3 separate regions of the Homo sapiens genome follow, and all the other regions are linked to region 3. Evidence: promoter capture Hi-C in human tissues and cell types (Jung and others, 2019). All regions are on one chromosome and are shown on one strand. The core of a region is centred on a gene start or on the middle of the fragment in contact, and the rest is flanking DNA. Distances in the headings are between cores, read along the strand shown.

Evidence for each region. The method cuts DNA at HindIII sites, captures the fragments that hold promoters and counts their contacts. A contact is called where the count stands out against the background at its distance.
Region 1: a contact is called between a fragment that was not itself captured here and the fragment with the promoter of SDF2 in region 3, in 1 of the 25 tissues and cell types used here (liver).
Region 2: a contact is called between a fragment that was not itself captured here and the fragment with the promoter of SDF2 in region 3, in 2 of the 25 tissues and cell types used here (hippocampus and lymphoblastoid cells).

The regions. Positions count from the first base shown.
Region 1 is chr17:28,960,075-28,962,774 of GRCh38, reverse strand. It overlaps SEZ6 (seizure related 6 homolog), which reads left to right. Exons shown (of 17, transcript NM_178860.5): 6 at 1,802-1,970; 7 at 2,104-2,270. All of the region lies in intron 1 of LOC105371716 (a long non-coding RNA gene), which reads right to left. Among named protein-coding and RNA genes, the nearest start is that of PHF12, 9.9 kb to the right of the region's middle. The HindIII fragment of the contact is 4,967 bases long and covers 1-2,700 here.
Region 2 is chr17:28,939,447-28,942,157 of GRCh38, reverse strand. The region is part of intron 2 of PHF12 (PHD finger protein 12); the gene reads left to right. The region is part of intron 1 of LOC101927018 (a long non-coding RNA gene); the gene reads right to left. Among named protein-coding and RNA genes, the nearest start is that of PHF12, 11 kb to the left of the region's middle. The HindIII fragment of the contact is 9,881 bases long and covers 1-2,711 here.
Region 3 is chr17:28,660,497-28,663,196 of GRCh38, reverse strand. It overlaps SDF2 (stromal cell derived factor 2), which reads left to right and starts at 1,291. Exons shown (of 3, transcript NM_006923.4): 1 at 1,291-1,471. The coding sequence starts at 1,321. It overlaps SUPT6H (SPT6 homolog, histone chaperone and transcription elongation factor), which reads right to left and starts at 992. Exons shown (of 37, transcript NM_003170.5): 1 at 855-992. RefSeq lists enhancers at 202-876, 974-1,043, 405-1,604. The HindIII fragment of the contact is 8,142 bases long and covers 1-2,700 here.

The sequences.
Region 1 (2,700 bases), core at 113-2,612, 300 kb before region 3:
GAGTCTCCCTCTGTCACCCAGGCTGGAGTGCAGTGGCACGATGTCCGCTCACTGCAACCTCCACCTCCCGGGTTCAAGCGATTCTTCTGCCTCACCCTCCAGAGTAGCTGGGGTTACAGGTGCATGCCACCATACCCAGCTAATTTTTTTGTATTTTTAGTAGAGATGGGGTTTCACCATGTTGGCCAGTCTGATCTCGAACTCTTGACCTCAGGTGATCCACCTGCCTCGGCCTCCCAAAGTGCTGGGATTACAGACTTGAGCCACCATACCCAGCCATGAATCTTATTTCATTCTATAAATTCTTCCTGGGTGCCAGGCACAACCAGAGTTGAATAACACAGATGCTTTCTCAGCCCTCGAGGATCTAGCGGGGAGGCTGGCAAGCAGCTCAGTGCAGAGGATGCTACAATAGGAGTAAAGGCAGAGTGGTGGAGGAGCCCAAGGGATGGAGAGCTACTCCAAGATGAGAGAGGAGGCAAGCAAGGCTTCCCAAGGAGACAGCATGGAAGGATTTCAGAAATATTAGTTTGGGAAAGTGGGGTGGGTTCCTGGAACTGCATATGCAGAGATGTGCAGGCATGAAATAGCACAAGATAGTGAGCACACAGTGAAGTGTGCCTGAAGCAGAGGGTATGCGGGGAGAGGGGACTGAAGCTGAGTCTAGAGAGAGGTGGATTCATAAAGGGCTTGAACACCATTTTCAGCTTTAACTCTATCCTGAGGGTAATGGGGAGCCACTAAGCAATTTTCAGCAAAGGATGGGGCATGATCAGATTTGAAGGGCAGTTCCATTCTGAGACCAAGCTGAGGCAGGTCTGTCCTTTCTGCAGAGAAGAAACTTGCCCCAGCCCCCCAGGAGCTTTACTAGGTTACAATATTCTGCTGCCTTGAGCATTTGGAGACAAAGGTCCTGTGTATTGGTCATGGCAGCCTGGTCTCTGAGAGTTGGGTAGGTCAGAGCTATGTGTCCAGGAGAGGAAAGCACTGCCTGGAACCAGCCATACTCCTCTTGCCTGAGGACCCCTCTCTGGCCTCACATAACCGCCAGGAGTTTGTGGCCAAGTAACCCAGCAATCCTCACAGATAGCCATAGGCAAACTGTTCAGTCTCTCCTTAGAAAGAGAGGACAGCCCCAAGCCAGTAGGGTCAGCACTAGAAAGGTCAGTCAGCCCAGGAACGGCAGTGGTAGTGAGGCCGGGGCGGATGGCATGCACATCAGGTGTTTGCCGCCCGGATCTAGTGCTAACCCCTTTTTACATTCATTCACTCATTTTATTCAACCAACGCTGAACACCAACTCTGTGCCTGGCCTGGAAAGACCTGGTTCCTGCTCCAGGGGGTCCTAGTTAAGGGACATACCCAAACAACTGATTTTAGGAAAGTGGCATGAGGTAGAAGTAGCAGATGTATCCAAGAAGGTTGAAGCCCACAGTAAGGGCTTTAGTAAAGTCTACCTAGGGAGAGTCGGCCTTCTAGAGAAGTCAGCAGAGAGGGAAAGTGACTTACCTGGGCACACAACCAGGCAGTGATACATCTACCCACAGTCAAGAGAGTTACCCTGGTCAGTCCCAGGGGTGTGAAAGGTTAGGCGGCAGGATTCTGGAGCTCAGGCTGCCTGGAGATGCAGGTTCACAGGGCTAAAAGGTTGACCTTCAGGACGATGAGGGCCAAGATGGCAGGGAGGCAAGGTCCCCGCTGCTCCAAGCAGAGGATATAGGGCTGGGATAGGGAGGAAGGCATGTTAGGCTGCCTGGGTTCAGGCAGGGGCCTAGCCTACGTCCTGTCCTGGTCTTAACAGCTGCTTGCGGCGGAGTGATCCGCAATGCCACCACCGGCCGCATCGTCTCTCCAGGCTTCCCGGGCAACTACAGCAACAACCTCACCTGTCACTGGCTGCTTGAGGCTCCTGAGGGCCAGCGGCTACACCTGCACTTTGAGAAGGTTTCCCTGGCAGAGGATGATGACAGGTGAGGGGCTGTCCTAGTGGAATGGGAGTGCCTGGCCTGGTAATACCCTGCTGGAGGGACGCTACCCAAGCCTGGGGCCACACCCCATCTGGGTCAGCCACCAGCCTACATAGCTGCCACTCTCCTGGTTCAGGCTCATCATTCGCAATGGGGACAACGTGGAGGCCCCACCAGTGTATGATTCCTATGAGGTGGAATACCTGCCCATTGAGGGCCTGCTCAGCTCTGGCAAACACTTCTTTGTTGAGCTCAGTACTGACAGCAGCGGGGCAGCTGCAGGCATGGCCCTGCGCTATGAGGGTGAGCCTGCTGGGGCCTCACTGGGGGTGGCGGGTCCACGGGGATGGGCTCGGGCCTAGGGTCTTTCTCCCACACCCTACCCCTCTCTGCCTCCATGCTGTCACTCCTTCCAAGTCAGCCCCTGCTCACTCAGTACTTAGGCCCCCTTTCCCTGCCCCTCTCTTTGGGTCCGGGATCCCTACCACAGCTTTGCAGGAAACCTCTGCCTGGACCCAGGCCCTATGGTCCAAGGGAATAAATTCTCCAGATTTTGAAAAGCAAAAAAGGCCTCAACCCTTAAGAAAGAATTGCTGTAAGAGACATTCTAGAACCATTTATGCATGCATGCATTGATTAATTCATTCAAAAAACATGTATGGAGTACCTTCTGTGTACTAAGCACAAAACCAGGCAGTGGGAACAGGATGGTAATCAAGATGGCCTCCTGAGC
Region 2 (2,711 bases), core at 39-2,538, 280 kb before region 3:
CAGTTAGGATGGTACATCCCAGTGAAGAGAACCTTACGATGTGATTTGGTATGTTGTTGTTTCAACTTTTCTGCATGTCCTTTCCTAGCAAAGAAGTCTAAAGCTGTATTGTTGCCTTAGAGGAAGTACAAAAAATCCACCATCTGCCTTTAGATAGGATGCTCACCTGTCACCCACTAGCCACAACAGAAAATGTCTGTGTTTGAGCACTTCTCATACTTGGAGGACCCTAGTTTAAGAAAGAAGATGTTGGCTGAGGGCAGTGGCTCACACCTGTAATCCCAGCACTTTGGGGAGCCGAGGCAGGTGGATCACTTGAGGTCAGGAGTTCGAGACCAGCCTGACCAACATGGTGAAACCCCATCTCTACTAAAAATACAAAATTAGCTGGGCGTGGTGATGCACGCTACTTGGGAGTCCCAAGTACTTGGGAGGCTGAGGCAGGAGAATCGCTTGAACCCGGGAGGTGGAGGTTGCAGTGATCACGCCATTGCACTCTAGCCTGGGCACCAAGAGTGAAACTCCATCTCAAAAAAAAAAGATTTTAATTGTCTCAGTTTTATTGGTTGTGGTGGAAATAACTTCAGGTCAATTAAAATGTGCTGTCTTTTGAGCCCAGTTAACAAGAACAAAAAGTTGTTTGTATATTACAGCAAACTCACCTGTGTATTTGTATCTTTATATAAGCCCAGATAACAGTAAATAAAGAGAGCGCAGAGAATATTTACTGGACAGTTTTATATGGCTCATAAAAAGAAACCATCTGCTTTGATCCTCCCAAGAGGATTTTTGCTACCTAAAAATGCAGCTGTCCTGCTTCTTGAACAGAAATGGGTACATCTTTTCTCCCACAAGAAGAGTAATAGAAAATAGATTAATACTCTGGGCTTTTGATAATGGGTAAGCATACTGAAATCCATCTCTCAACTTTCTTGTCCCAACCCCAACACAGGGACAATTCCTTGGGTATGCAGTTAAGTAGGCCACCCTGATAAAAGATTCCGTTTGGGTTTATGGTAGCCCTTATATATTAATGCAGCACAAGCTCCTGGAAATGCATTCAAGTTTTAAGGTCCAGCGTTTTAAGTCACCAGAACAGGAAAAAAAAAAAAAAAAAAGTCTGTTTTCCCCCCTCCACTGGGCTCCTCCTTTGACTTAGAGGCCCCAGGGAGTACAACATGGCCAGCTGCATTGCCATTCAATGAGTGACACTTAGAAGAGAACCTCTGCATAATGCGTGCCTCCCAAGAGAATACAGGACAGGAGCACGGCTGTACCCCTGCCAGTTTCCTGAAAGAGGAGGACATTGTATTCAGTGCAAGTCCTAGACCAAATTTCAGAAAGCCACTTTGGTATTGCAGATTTGTCACCATGCCCAGGACGCATGCACAGGTCACTAGCTGACTGCTTTTCCCAGGACTTGAGAGCAGTTAAGAAGAATGAGAATGTGACTCCTTTTTCTGCCTGCCATTTCCAGATATCAAAATCCTTATCCTTTAAGCCTAAGGTTATTCCTAAACCTAAGTCTCAGCAAATAAGAACAAAGATGAGGTTTTAGCACATTTTGTGTGAGGCAAAAGCTGAGGCATACAATAGACACTAATAAAAGGAGGAATCCATGAGTTGACCCATCAGCAGGAAGGAACTTGACTACTACATAGAGCTGTTGTGGAATTCACAATAAGTAAATTACATGTGCACCTTGCAGATTGATGCAATTTTCAAAGTAATGAAAAACTTGACTTGCTCACTCAGAGAGTGAGTCCCTTTTGCTCTGCTGCCTACTTTCCCTTTTGCTACAATCGTACTACATAAATGCTCACTAAACTACTTAAAAGCCGGAGGCTGACCCATTTCCTCTTCTCACTGCCGTGTAATTCCTAGTGGTATTACAGATGAGAGACATGCAAAGGTAAACAGTAGTTGGGGAACAAAAATGATATCTGGGTTATTCCAAGTGGATGATACCTTTGTTAACACAGACACAAGGTGAAAATTTCTTTTCCCCTAATTACATTTGCTTTCTTTTAAGTTAGTGACTTTGGTGTTTAATTTTTGCCTCTCCCCTGTTTTCTGACAAATTTTATGGGATATCTCCCAAGAAATGTTTCTCAGCCTTGACAGGACAAAAGACATACAGAGTAACAGCAGGGCAGGGAGCAACTCCGTGCCTGAATGTAGCGTCAGTCTTTCCTACTGATCTGGGCTCTCTGCGTGAGGCTCGTTTTGAAATAAGCTTGAGTGAGCAAAAGAGGACTCTCTGCAGGGTTTGAATTTAACGGTAGCCCAAAGACATCACTTTACCTCCAAGCCAGGCAGGGATAGGGGAACCTCTCAGAATTACTAGCAAGCTTGAGTTCCAGGTGGACCCCTGTTTGTGGCAGCACAAGCATCTTTTTTACTCAGCTATGGTCCTCAGAGGGATGTTGAATATTATTTTTCTCCTGTCTGCATTTGTGCAGAGAACAGAGCAGAGAAACTAATGAAATGCACAGAGCTTCAAGTGAATTTAAAGAAGCCTCTGCATTATGAAATAAGGCAATGATGACCTACTCTTGCTTTTCTTTCCACTACCCCTAGGCTCCTGTGATCAGCTGAGTGCTCGTTAATTCCCACGTTCACTAAACCATCATAGTTCTGCTGATTCTCAGCTTTAGAGGGAAACTCTACAGTGAACTTTTTCAATTAGCAGTCATCAATTACTGGTCAGA
Region 3 (2,700 bases), core at 42-2,541:
AGACATTTTTCCGAAGAAATTAATCAAATTCAATATTGTTTACACTCCCTAATGCTCATTAATGATGTAGCTTCATACACCCTTGTTACTTTTGATATTACAGTGAATTTCCACGGAAGTATTTTCAGAGATCTTAGCCCTCTGAAATAAGTATCAGTTCTTGCAACAACCCAGGAAAATTAACTTCTCCAGCTGGTTCAAAGGAGTGCCTGAGGAGAAAGGTAGAAACTAGAAGATGGAGTTTTGACTTAATAACTAATTTTGATGTTCATGATAGGCCTCTGGCAAACGTTTGAGGAAATGAATCTATAGAGAATGGACGGGCTTTAGGACTTCTACAAGACCTTCGATCTTTAGAAAGGGATGAAGGATGCAACCATCTACAAAAAGTTCTATTTGTATTATTCAGCAATATGTAAAGAGCTGGAATTTGGCATCGCCCTCTAGCCTGATGGCCGAGCTGCTGAAAGCTCCACAGGATTCATATCCCCAGAACAAACAACTCGATCACCTGATCCTGGCTCAGAAGCCCCAGGTCCCTTCCATCCCCAATCCTTTTGCGTGGCCCAGTTTTAAAAACCTGCGGAGAGAAGGACGGGATGCCAGGAAGCCTGTTGATTCAACGTGCCACCCGATTCACGGGTTCCGGGTGTCACTGGGCTGGGAAAAGCTTTCGGACTCTGAGCAACTACAGCGCTTTCCTCCCCCTTCCCCCCATAGAGCAGGGAAGGCCAGGCTCCCCCTTCTTCCCGCATACGGCTCCCCACTGCCTCTTCCCTTACGTGACCAGGCCCTAGGAGCCCGGTTCCCCACCTGACTCCTGCGAGAAACACGCTCTCCAGTCGGAACTTTACCTGTCTGAAGCCCGCCGCTCCTCCAGTGCGCTAAGCCCCCACCGAGGAAAATGGAGTCGTCGAACCGAGACTGGGAAAAGATAGTACGGACCCACCGCACGGCCCCTCCGCCGCCACCGCCGCCGCTGCTGCGTCAACGTGCTACGTCATTTCCGGCTCCCTGTCACCGGGAGTGGGCGGGCCATTTCTTGTTCTCTCTCCCGCTCTCGGAAGCTTTCGTCTCGTGGGTGCGAAAGGTAACCGAAGCGGCTCAGGAAGGCAGCTGTCACTGAGCCCCTGGAACAGAGCGAGAGTATCGTAAGTAACCAGGCTCAGCCGGTTTCTCAGGCCGCTCTAGTCAAATAAACCATAAAGATCAGACTCGGGCTTCTTCACTTCCTTCTCTCCGTGGTTTCGCCATTAGCTTCCGGTTCCGGGGAGGGGCCGAGTTTTCTTCGAAGATTTGGGGCTCCGCGATACAGTTAGGATGGCTGTAGTACCTCTGCTGTTGTTGGGGGGTTTGTGGAGCGCTGTGGGAGCGTCCAGCCTGGGTGTCGTTACTTGCGGCTCCGTGGTGAAGCTACTCAATACGCGCCACAACGTCCGACTGCACTCACACGACGTGCGCTATGGGTCAGGTAATGCTGGGGACCGGGCTCGGGTGGGCTAGGGAGGACTCGGAGGCTCTGGAGGGGCGGGGCCTATAGAATATCTGACAGTGTGGTCTGGGAAAGTTAGGGGTTCCCTGGGAAGGTTCCTCAGGTCTAGAGAGTCGGAGAACTGAATTGTTCTAAGGCATCTTAATCGCAACACCACCTAATATTTGGTGAGCTACAGGCCAGGCACGTTACCTATGTCCTTTTTCCGATTATTAACATTGTTGTAAGGTGGACAGTATTGTTATCCTCATTTCACAGATGAGGAAACAGACGCAGAGAAATTAAATCGTTTATTCAAAGCCTTGCAGTTAGCAAATGACAAAGTCGGGGTTCTATCCAAATCTATCCAGGTTCAAAGCCTGCTTTAGAGACAAGAAAATTACAGTAAGTGCTGTGTCTGAAATTTTAAAGTTACAGTAAGTACTGTCTGTGAAACTTTAAACTCCAAGAGCTCACTCGTTGACTACAACCCTTTGTCTTCCAGCTCTTCTGCATCTTACACTTGCTCCTCAGTTTCCATCTTTGGCCCCCTTCTACCCAAACCTTAACCTCCTTCTTGTAAGAAACTTGGAGCAGTGACAGGAATTGCAGAGAAAACTGCTTTTTTTTTTTTTTTTTTTTAGCGTTTGAAATTAAAATGTTTAGTAATAAATTATTTGTGGATTCATTCAGCATAGGTCTTAATGAGTTCCTACTACATGGCTAGAATTGTACTACATACAGGAGATTCGGTGGTGATAATCAGTCAAGAAAATTACAATATAATAAAAACAGACTAAAAAAAGAAAGTCTTATCTGCCTGAAAAAAAAAGATAAAGTTAAAAAAAAAGAATGAAGGTCAGCTAGTGAGATGTGAGAGGCATCTAAGATAGCTGGTAGATTTTTGTCTTGAATGACTGATGATGCTGTTTGCTGAGGGAGGAAAGAGTTCTGTCAGGTGGGCTAGTCTGGTTCATGATTCCCAAAACCCATCTGATCAGTCAGACTAGGCAAGGACATGAGTTATCATCACTGCGATGTCTTAATAATTCTAGCACCCATTCAGTGAACACCTACCATGTTGTCAGGCTTATTTTTTACTTTGTTTTGGTTTCCTACTTTGGATCTACTGAATTAGAGTGGAGGTGGACAGAGGCTTGGCAGTAGCAATCTGTAGGTTTAAAAAGCTCTTCAGGTGGTTCTGATGGACAGCCAGATTTGGGAACCAG